3 separate regions of the Homo sapiens genome follow, and regions 2 and 3 are each linked to region 1. Evidence: promoter capture Hi-C in 16 types of primary human blood cells and fetal thymus (Javierre and others, 2016). All regions are on one chromosome and are shown on one strand. The core of a region is centred on a gene start or on the middle of the fragment in contact, and the rest is flanking DNA. Distances in the headings are between cores, read along the strand shown.

Region 1 (3,473 bases), core at 718-3,217:
AGTGGCATGATCTCAGCTCACTGCAACCTCCGCCTCCCAGGTTCAAGTGATTCTCTTGCCTCAGCCTCCTCAGTAGTTGGAATTACAGGCACGCACCACCACGCCAGGCTAATTTTTGTATTTTTAGTAGAGATGGGGTTTCACCACGTTGGCCAGGCTGGTCTTGAACTCCTGACCTCAAGTGATCCACCTGCCTTGGCCTCCCAAAGTGCCTGGATTACAGGTGTGAGCCACTGCGCCCAGCCTGGTTCTTTCCTAACGGCAGAAACAGTCTTGCAACAAGGTCTTACTTTAAGCCAAAAGACCGGGGTTCAAATCTTCACTCTTACGGGTTCAAATCTTCACTCTTACTTAACTTACTATACCTCCTACCTTTCCAGGCCTCAGTTTCTTCAGCTATCAAACAGAGCTGAGAGGACCAAATGATTTTTAAGGTCCCTTCTATATCCCAGGATTCACTAGTTCCCTCTCATTAATCAGCACAGAGGCTTGGAACAAAACTCCAGGATCCATGACTACCTTCAAACAACAGGGGTGTGTTGTCAGCCAGGCCACTTGGCTCCCAGCTCACCTAGGCCAGAGGAAGCAGCAGCTGCCTTGTCCGCCTCCCCAGCGTTCACGAAAGGTGGCTGACCTAAACCCAGGACAGAGACTTGGGGCCACTACCACTCTCATGATCTATTCTTAGCCCAGCCTCTCAGGGTGGGTGAGGAAGGAAGGTGGACCAAGGACAGAAGGACTTTTTTCTAGGTTCCAATGGATTCTCAGGCACCACCCCCAGGCCTGTCACTAAAATCTTCACTGGGACTGATAAGGAAGATCTTGCCAGAGCCAAGACCCGTCAGGCATTTGAGGAAGCTGCCTGTGAAAGGAACCAGGGTTTTAAGCAGATAACCAAAGTTGGGCTGACTTTCAGGACACGCCAGAGACACTTATTCTGGAAAACACTTAGGCTCACATCAAGGGAGCAGTTTTATCTTTCAGAGTTTCCCTTTATGACCGCAACAGAGTTTTTGTGCAATAAACTTACTAACCGGGAGTTTTGAAAAAAGCAAGTAAGCAAGCAAAGGAGTGGATGGGTGGAGTTAAGGAGATGTCTCAAAGCGCCCAGCTGGGATTGCTTTTCTGGGCCACTGCCATGCATTCTGAGTGGCTGAGATGATCCAAGGAGATCCAGGGGAAAGGGCACAGACTAGGGGGTTCCAGCCCTCTGTGAGTATCTCACAGGCGGGGGCTCTGCCTGTCACAGGCTGGGGCGAGGCTCTTCCACAGGTCGTAAAGGGATTCTGTCACGCGCTGGAGGGATCTGATCTGACGCAGGGTGGGGTCTGCGCGGGGTCTGCCACAGGCAGGCAGGACAGAGGTGAGATGGCATCTCCCAAACAGGGCAGGGGTCAGCTCCTAACTCCAAGGGGAGGCGGGGGAGTGGTGACAGGGGCTGGTTCATCCCCACCCCATTCCACACCCCTACATATACAGAGACACACACGACCCCGCTTGTCACCACCTGCCCAGTCAAGCTCATGCTGCCCAAAGTGGGTCTGCAAACACTAACTGCTAGTGACACCAGCTACCCCGGGGCCTCCCAGGCGTGACACGCGTGCAGATGCTGCTGTCACGGCTAGGAGGAGGACCTCCCCTCCAATGACTCGTCCACCACGGCAGCTAGCACCGGCTTCTCTGGGCGAGGCGACAGCGGGCCGGCTCGGGCGGGGACAGCGGAGGACCGGGGTGCACTCACACGTTGAGGACGTTGCGCTTGTTGCTGAGGTAGCTCTCGGGCAACGGGGACAACTCCTTGAGGAGGGAGCCCGCCAGCATGGAGGCCACCAGGGCCCAGGGCAGGTAGCGCCGCACGGCCGCCCGCACCAGCGTCCCCCGCAACAACCACTCGCAGCGCTCCAGATGCTCCATGCCGGATCTCGTCAGCCACCGTCCTCCTCTCCGTGCCCTCTCGGCCACCGTATCGCCCTTCGCCCGGACCTGCGCCTCCACCTCCCTTCGAGCGCATGCGCACTGCCCGCGAGTCCCACAGCTTGAGGCGTGCTTGGGCTCCGGAGCCCGCGCGCTCCCCCTCGTGGCCGCTGCTGCCTCTGGCGCGTGACGGTCCCCGAACTCGCTCGTCTCCTCTGCGCTCTCCTGGCCGCCTCCTCTCCCCGAGCCTCCGCGTCTTGCTCTGGTCTGGGAAAAAGCGCTTGTGAAAGTATTTGCTGGAGGCTGGAAGAGGATAAATGTAGCCCTGGAGAATTGGAGCAGTAGTCACAGCATCATTTGATCTTTCTTGGAGCCTCGGAGACACCTCTGCCATCTGAGTCTTAGTTTTCTCATCTGTAAAATGCGAGAGACAAGAGGAGATCAACCTTTCCCAAAAGCTAGTTTATGAGCTCAGGGGTTCATTACGTTGGCACACGTAGAGGGACATGAGATGAAGTTTCCTTAGGAATAATTATTGTATTTATTTATTTATTAGTTAGTTGGGGGGGGGTCCCTCTCTGTCGCCCAGGCTGGAGTGCAATGGCACCGTCGCAGCTCACCGCAACCTCAAATTTCTGGTCTCAAGCAATACTCCCACCTCAGCCTCCCGAGTAGCTGGGACCACAGGCGGGCACCACCACACCTGGCTAATTTTTTTTATTTTTATTTCTGTAGAGACAGGGTTTTGCTTCGTTGTCGAGGCTGGTCTCAAACTCCTGGGCTCAAGCGATCCTCCTGCCTCGGCTTCCTAAAATGCTGCAATTACAAGTGTGAGCCACCACGCTCTGCAGTTATTAAATTAATTAATTAATATAATTAATTTATTTAGAGACATAGTCTCGCTCTGTTGCCCAGGCTGGAATGCAGTGGCGCGATCTCAGCTCACTGCAGGCCTCTGCCTCCCAGGTTCAAGCGATTCTCCTGCCTCAGCCTCCCGAGTAGCTGGGATTACAGGCACGCACCACCACACCCAGCTAATTTTTGTATTTTTAGTAGAGATGGGGTTTCACCATGTCGGCCAGGCTGACCAACTCCTGTCCTCAAGTGATCTGACCTCTCCAAATCTTAACCTCAAGTGATCTGCCAGCCTTCACCTCCCAAAGTGCTGAGATTACAGGAGTGAGCCATCTCACCTGGTGCAATTATTACATTTAAAGTTTAAATTTCTAAATTTATTTTCACCTGGGCAACACAGTGAGACTCAGTATCTATAAGAAATAATTTTAAAAACTAGCTGACTTGGTGGCTCAGGCCTGTGGTCCCAGCTACTCAGGAGGCTGAGGTGGGAGGATTGCTTGAGCCCAGGAATTTGAGGTTGCAGTGAGCTGTGATGGTCCCATTGCACTCCAGCCTGGGCCACGGAGCGAGACCGTCTTAAAAAGCACACAAAGAAACACAAAACAGCTATCTATGCCTGTTGGATGAAAATGCTGGATGCTGGGGGTTAATGGGGAGATCACATGAAGTTGTTGGAGACTCAGTTGCTCAGTTTATCACAA
Region 2 (3,791 bases), core at 1,224-3,723, 96 kb before region 1:
ACCAGCCTGGCCAACATGGCGAAACCCTTTCTCTACTAAAAATATGAAAAATTGGCTGGGCATGGTGGCGCATGCACCTATAATCCCAGCTACCCGGGAGGCTGAGGCAGGAGAATCTCTGAAGCCGGGAGGCGGAGGTTGCAGTGAGCCGAGATTGCGCCACTGCACTCCAGCCTGGGCCAACAGAGCAAAACTGTCTCAAAAAAAAAAAAAAAATCTCATATATCCTTGAGGGGAAAGAATTGTCTGGATCGTGATTGAATTCCCAGGGCTTAGCACACTTCCTGGGGATTAGTAGATGCTCAATACAGTTTTGGTGAATTCTCATTTTACCTGCTTTCCATCCCTAATTATATTAAATACCAAAAACTAAAAAGTTACAGTATTTCATTTTATGTAAGCACATCTCCATCATAAAGAGTTAGATGCTTTCCAAGAATGTGACTCATTACTCGGGGAGTACTTGGAAGGTGGGAACCTCTTGTGAATGCTGAAGCCTGTTAACTCACACACCTGACGTGGCCTGAAGTTTTAAGTCATTATACATAGGACTGGCTCACGGTGTGATACATCATGACTTGGAAAGAGATAGAAAAGCTACAAAATGGGATGGATCTGAGTGAACAAAAAGCCAGATCGGTGTCCTATACCAGCAATTCCAAGTCTTTTTAACCATGGGAAAAAAACCTGAATTTGTGTGTGGACTTTATATTGAAGAAATCAACTTTGTATTAATGCACATGGTAATGCCATTTAATTAAAAAGCTGTGGTAGATGTAAAATTCCTCTAACAGTGCTTCTTTCTTGCTACAAGTGTCTTGTACATGCTTTAGTAAGAGAGACTTAATTCCATGAATTTATACTGCAAGAACAATTTATATAGGAAGATAATAGTTTCTCTTAAAAAATAACTTTGGAGAAGCCAAGTCCAAAGTAATAAAGAAAATTATTTGCCTAACCATGTGGCTGCCATCCTACCAGTTGGTAATCTGGAAAATATTCTGTTCTTATGTTTTAAGACTCAAATTAATTTATTTCTTACCTCGATATACTTTTTTAAATGACTTAGGGTAGGCCAGGCGTGGTGGCTCACGCCTGTAATCCCAACACTTTGGGAGGCTGAGGCAGGTGGATCACCTGAAGTCAAGAGTTCGAGACCAGCCTGGCTAACATGGTGAAACCCCATCTCTACTGAAAAATAAATAAATAAATATACAAAAATTAGCTGGGAGTGGTGGGCACACACCTGTAATCCTAGCTACTTGGAGGCTGAGGCATGAGAAGCCCTTGAACCCAGGAGGTGGAGGTTGCAGTGAGCTGAGATCATGCCACGGCACTCCAGCCTGGGCTACAGAGCAAGACCTTGTCTCAAAAAAAAAAATAAAATTAAATTAAAATGACTTTGGGATAGAAGATAGTGATAATGATTATTTGTCTTGATTTACAAGATGTTAGCTCATGTAATCTTCATAACCAATTTGTGAAATGTACTTCTATGATGTCTGTTTTACAGCTGAGGAAACTAGGCTCAGAATAGTTAGATAACTTGTCCAAGGTTACATAGTTTGTAAGTGGTAGAACGGGGATTCCAATCTAGGCAGTCTGACTATAGCACCCTGCTGACCGCTGAGTTACACTGCTTTCCTTAGCCTCCCCACCTTCACCTCCTGTATGTACCCAGCTAGACCAGGGATACCTGCTTTCACCTGGAAAATACCACTGGGTTTGAGGAAATTGGCTGCCCAGGGCCTAGGACTGTTCCAGCCACTCTTTCTTTGCATATATTTGAACCCAGCAGGCATATTTCCCTCTCAGGTCTTTTGTATGTATTTCCCCTCCTGGAGCATTGTTTACTCACAGTTCATCTTGTCATTCAAAGTCTCTGCTCATATCAGCTCCCCAGGGGGGTCTTCCTTGGCTTCCCCAGCACCCCCTTCACTGTGTATCCCTTTACCCTGCTTTATCATAGCACTTGTCACTACCTGACAATGTATAGTTATTTTTTGGTCCCCTCACTAGAATAGAAGCTACCCGAGGACAGGGACTTTGTGTCTTTTTTTTAGTCACTATTTTTTTTAATCAAAGATGCACATTTTCCCACAATTTATTAATAGCGGTTAGAAAATCTGAATGTGTCTTATAATCGCCAGTGTGTCCTGGTTTAATTGGTAGTATTTTTTTCTTTCTTACTTGTTCCTACAGTAAGTGGTGAGTCTTTAAAATGATGGTGTCTTAGAATTGATGAAAATACAGTGTATCCCCAAGGCCTGAACTCTATGTGGCACATAGTTGGCTCTCAATAATTACTTGTTAAAGGAAGGCATTGAGTGTTGTGTGCCAGAAACTATTGAAACCTTTTTTTTTTTTTTGAGATCTCGCTCTGTCACCCAGGCTGGAGTGAAATGGCACAATCTTGGCTCACTGTAACCTCCGCCCCCAGGTTCGACTGATTCTCGTGCCTCAGCCTCCTCAGTAGCTGGGATTACAGGTGAGCACCACCATGCTCTGCTAATTTTTGTATTTTTAGTAGCAATTTATATCATTCCAGCAGACTCTTAGAAAGTAGATGGGGAGGGTGGGGAATGTAAGAGAGACCAGTTAGAAGACACTCGAAATAATCTGAGGGAAGACCAGAATGGGAACCATGGCTGAAGGATGGTGAGACCAGCAGGGCTCGGCAGCCTGCTGAGCAGATGTCTGGCCTGAGCCGTGCCAGTAGGTGGCCCCCTTCACTAAGGAAGGGAATCCAAGAAGACTAGGTTTGGGGAGTGTGAGACGGTTTGGTTTTGAACATAAAAGTTTCAAGTGCAGATGAAAGGAGGAATCAGGTCCCAAAGGCTGCAGCAAGGGACTTATCCTGAGGTTTCTCCTTCTGAGAACTGTAGGAGCTATGGAAAGAAATGACCAAATTTATTTTAGAAAGATGACTGGTTTCAGCGTGAGCCGGCATGGTGATCCAGGCCTGAGATGATGGTGATCGAAGGGGCAGGTGGCCCTAAGTATGGAGAACAAGTGAGCCGATTGGAAAGTTGCGTAGATCAGGCCTTGGGGAGAGATTGACTACGAACAGGATGGGCAGTGAGAGAAAGCTGACAATGATACTTTGCTTTCCAGTTTGAGCAACTGAATGGATATTGGTGCCCATCTCAATTAAACTCTGTTGAACCCAGCTGACAGTGAGCAGAGGAAGAACATTTAAATGGAGAATCATAGTAACAGCTAATACTTTCTTTTATTTCTTTCCTTTTCTTTTCTTTTTTTTGAGACAGAGTCTTGCTCTGTTGCCCAGGCTGGGGTGCAGTGGTGCAATCTTGGCTCACTGCAACCTCTGCTTCCCTAATTCAAGTGATTCTCCTGCCTTAGTCACCCACGTGTGCCACCATGCCTGGCTAATTTTTGTTTGTTTGTTTGTTTGTGGAGACAGCGTTTTGCCATGTTGGCCAGGCTGCTCTCGGACTCCTGGCCTCAAGTGATCTGCCTGCCTCAGCCTCCCAAAGTGCTGGGACTGCAGGCATGAGCTACCATGCCCAGCCTATGAGGGCTAATACTTTCATAGCTCTTCCTATGCATCAGAAGACTCATTTTAATTCTCACCACAATTCTATGAGATTACCATTATCACACTCATCTTCCAGATGAGGAAACTGAAGCAAAGAGAAGTTAAGTAACTCACCAAGGTCACACAGCTAACAAGTGGCAGAGCTAGAATTTGAACCTAGGCAGCTTGGTAGAGTCTGTGCTGTCACTGCCTCTCTGTGCTGATATATCTCTAAATTAGTTCAGTTTGGACA
Region 3 (3,757 bases), core at 1,163-3,662, 120 kb before region 1:
CACCCTCACAAACGTAACTGTCCTGTCGAGACCAAGCTCAGGCGTCAGCTCCATTTAAAGTATTTCCTGACCTCCTCAAATCTAAATTCTCCTTTCTGCAACAGTATCTGTACATACTTGTGTATAATGTGTATAACTGTTTGTCTGCATGCCTATCTTTGTTTTTCGATTTTTCGTTTTGTAAAAATGGGGATCTTGCTAGATTGCCCAGGCTGGTGTTGAACTCCTGGCCTCAAGTGATCCTCCCACCACAGCTTCCCAAAGTGCTGAGATTACAGGCGTGAGCCACGGAGTCCAAGAATTGCTTGAGCCCAGGAGTTTGAGACCAGCCTGGGCCACATAGTAAGACCCCATCTCTACAAAAAAAGAAAAAACAATTAATTAGCTAGGCTTGGTGGCATGTGCCTTGTAGTTCCAGCTACTCAGGAGGCCAAGATGGGAGGATTGCTTGAGCCCAGGAGTTCAAGGTTGCAGTGAGCTGTGATTGTGCCACCGCACTTCAGCCTGAGCAACAAAGCAAGACCTATCTTTAAAAAATTTAAAAAAGGAAACACAAAAGGAATGTAGGCCCGGCACAGTGTCCCACACCTGTAATCCCAGCAATTTGGGAGGCCGAGACAGGCAGATTGCTTGAGCTCCGAAGTTTGAGACCAGTCTGGGCAATATGGAAAAGCCCTGTCTCTACAAAAAAAAAAATAATAATACAAAAATTAGCCAGGCATGGTGGTGCACACCTGTAGTCCCAATTACTAGGGAAGCTGAGGTTGGTGGACCACTTGATCCTGGGAGATCAAGGCTGCAAAGAGCCGAGATCATGCCACAACACTCCAGCCTGGGCAACAGAACGAGAACTTGTCTTGGAAAAAAAAAAAAAGAATCCATGGATGGATCATAGATGGATGGATGGATGGATGGATGGATGGATGGATGGAAAGATGGATGGGTGGATGGGCAGGTAGATGTATGAATGGCTGGATGGGTAGATGAATGGTTGGGTGGAAGCATGAATGCGTGGGTGGGTAGATGGATGGATGGGCAGGCAGGTGGGTGGATGGATGAATGGATGGATGGACGGGTGGGTGGATTGGTGTGTGGATAGATGATGAGTGGATAGTTGGATGGGTGGATGGATGGATGGGTGGGTGGATGAATACTCCTCATGATCTATTGCTTGAAAATAATTTTCATGGCAAAGTTAAGACTAGACCCTAATTCTGCTAGAGTATATTCCATGGCTGTTTATGTTGGGGCATACCGAACATGCTAATGGTAGTAGTTATATTTTATTGTGTGTTGAGTGTGCACTTACATGGCAGGCTTTGTACTAAGCACTGCCACTAATCCTCTCAATAACCCCTTTATTAGCTCCATCTTTACTACAAGAAAATGGAAGCTCAGAAAGGTAGAGCAGCTTGCCCAAAACCACACAGCAAATCACTTCCTAGCCCATCTGATTCTGTGCCAATTGCCGGTCGCCTTTCCCACCCTCCACCAGGGTTTCTCACCCTCCCTGGCTCCACCCCACCTCTGCGGGCCCCCAGCTGGCCTCACCTCCATCAGCATAGGTCTCGGTGCCATAGCCGTCTTGCAGGCCATTGTTCCAGGTGCCCTCATACTTGGCACCGCTGCTTGAGCTCTGCCGGATTCCGTAGCGTCCCTTGAAGCCATGTGTCCACTCGCCCTTGTAGAGCCAGCGCCCCTTGGTCTCTATGCCCAGCCCATGCCGTTTGCCCTGGCTCCAGTATCCCTCAAAGGTGTTTCCGCTGGGCCAGGTGTAGACACCTGCCACCTCAAAGCCAAAGTTCCAGGAGCCAGAGTATTCGCCCTGGCCCTTGGGGCCTGTGCACAGTCCATGCCCATGGGCCTTTCCCCCCTCCCAGCCCCCGCAGTACGCCCCTCCATCATCAAAGTCGAAGCGGCCCCCACTCATCTCATCATAGCCCCTGACAACCTCCCCGTCCTCCAGCGTGGGTGCAGAGGGCGTGGGTGATGCCTGCAACACTCCTCCAGTGCCCTCGGGGGCAGGCCCCCAGACTCACCACTGCACCCCAGGAGGGGGGAAGCAGGATGCCAGCAGAGGCTGAAAGAGCCCCGGCGCCAAGTCAGCACCGGGTCGGCTAGTCAGTGCCATGCCCGGGAGCCCCGACTCCACCAGCCAGAGCAAGGCTGCCTGCTGGAAAGAAAGCAGGAAGGAAAGGTTCAAAGTCCCCACAAAGCGTCCCAAGTCTGCCTTCCAAGAAGTCCAAGGGAAAACGGTGTGATCTCTTTAAGAAGCCCAGTGAAAGGGTGGGGTGGAGGGGTCCCCAGCCTTTTCAAAGAGGGGAAATTCCCCTCGGTGGCAGCCCCCGCCGGAGGCTGAATTCCCGCAGCCCGCTGGCCCCCTTCTCCACCCCAGTGGGTGTGCGGGGCTGTCGGTCTCCCCGCCGCTGCCCCGCCCCCTTCTCCAATCCTGCCCTCCTTCTGGGACGGAAAGGTCAGTGTTGCCCTAACAAGGCCATTGGATCTCAGAAGCTGCTCCCAAAATAACCCCCAGCCAGCCCAGCCTTCTTCAAAGCGGGAAGGAGGGGTATTTCAAATCGCGCCCGTGCCGCAGACCCGGGCAGTGGCTGGAGGCATGAGGAAGGAGGCTGAGAACTGAGTGCAGGCAGCCCAGGGAACCTGGTGTCTTTTCCTCCCGGGAATGAGAGCTCCCTTCCATTCTCAGAGTCCCCTGGGTCTGCGCGCAGGGAGGGCACCGGGGAATCGGGGAAGGGAGGGGAGAGGGAGACCAGCAGAACACCCAGTCCTGGAACACTGAAAATCCCCCAGAGCGAGGAGGTTGGCAGATCTCAGCCCCATCACCACTCACATGCCCTAAGGGGACCTGGGGTTACAGCACCACTGCCAGCCCCATCAAGGAATCCAGTGACCTAAAGAGAAAGGAATGGAGACAGTTTCACATGTGCTTCCGAAAGCAGAGGAGGGAAGTCAGAAAGAGAGGGGAGGCTGTGGAAACAGGGTCTGGAAGATACACAGAATCTCAGTCCAGTGCTCACTCACCACCCTGAGCTCCCTCCACCCCTGGAAGCCGGGGAGAACTTGGTGCAAGAAGCAACCATCTATTCCCTTTCTCTTTCTCCTGAAGGGCAAAGAGAAGGGAGAGGAGCCTGCCCTCCTCTCTGCCTGAGACACAGACTGGGCGTCCCGCTAGCTTCCTCTCCCCACCCCTTGATGCCTCGGCGCCCTCCCTGCCCCCTGCCGCAGACCCAGCAGACCCTGAAGGTCAAAGGAGTCCCCTTCCTGTCAACACAGGGTTGTGTTGTAATGAGGTCCTCTCAGAAATTCTCAAGGGTCATGATTTTTTAAAATTTCCCTTTCTGAGCTGTCTTTTGCTCTAGTGTCCTAGGAGCCTGTGAGGCCAGACTTCAGAAAGCTCTTGGGGCAGGGCCAGGAGAGAAGGGCCTGGGTGGATTCCCAGCCACTCAGGTTCCCACCAAACTCCAGTAAAAAGAACAAATAAATCTCCATGGCAAGAAGCTGTGGCCAGAGCTAATGATTGTAAATCCCAGCTAAGCCCAAGGTTAATGGGAGTATAGAGGAATTCTGGGAAAGGTAAGAGCCACCAAGACTAGGAAGATCTGTGTGTGTGTGTGTCTGTGCGTGTGTGTGAACGTGTGTCTGTGAGAGTGTGAGAGAGTGTGTGTGAGTGTATGTGAGTGTGTGTGGTAAGAGTGTGTGTGTTTGTGTGTGTGTGGTAAGTGTGTGTTTGTGTGAGTGT

What was found. The method cuts DNA at HindIII sites, captures the fragments that hold promoters and counts their contacts. A CHiCAGO score of 5 or more calls a contact.
Region 2: a contact is called between a fragment that was not itself captured here and the fragment with the promoter of FITM2 in region 1, in 6 of 17 cell types (naive CD4 T cells, total CD8 T cells, megakaryocytes and 3 more). The highest score is 7.0, in naive CD4 T cells.
Region 3: the fragment with the promoter of JPH2 here is called in contact with the fragment with the promoter of FITM2 in region 1 in 1 of 17 cell types (M2 macrophages); the score reaches 5.7 in M2 macrophages.

Annotation. Positions count from the first base shown.
Region 1 is chr20:44,309,235-44,312,707 of GRCh38, forward strand. FITM2 (fat storage inducing transmembrane protein 2) reads right to left here and starts at 1,968. Exons shown (of 2, transcript NM_001080472.4): 1 at 1,742-1,968. The coding sequence starts at 1,914. RefSeq lists enhancers at 815-1,544, 1,491-1,580, 1,545-2,274, 1,871-2,020. The HindIII fragment of the contact is 15,971 bases long and covers 1-3,473 here.
Region 2 is chr20:44,212,516-44,216,306 of GRCh38, forward strand. It overlaps OSER1-DT (OSER1 divergent transcript), which reads left to right. Exons shown (of 3, transcript NR_038339.2): 2 at 2,373-2,488. Among named protein-coding and RNA genes, the nearest start is that of OSER1-DT, 3.5 kb to the left of the region's middle. RefSeq lists a silencer at 2,706-2,795. The HindIII fragment of the contact is 6,345 bases long and covers 1-3,791 here.
Region 3 is chr20:44,184,776-44,188,532 of GRCh38, forward strand. JPH2 (junctophilin 2) reads right to left here and starts at 2,413. Exons shown (of 6, transcript NM_020433.5): 1 at 1,552-2,413. The coding sequence starts at 1,930. The HindIII fragment of the contact is 12,085 bases long and covers 1-3,757 here.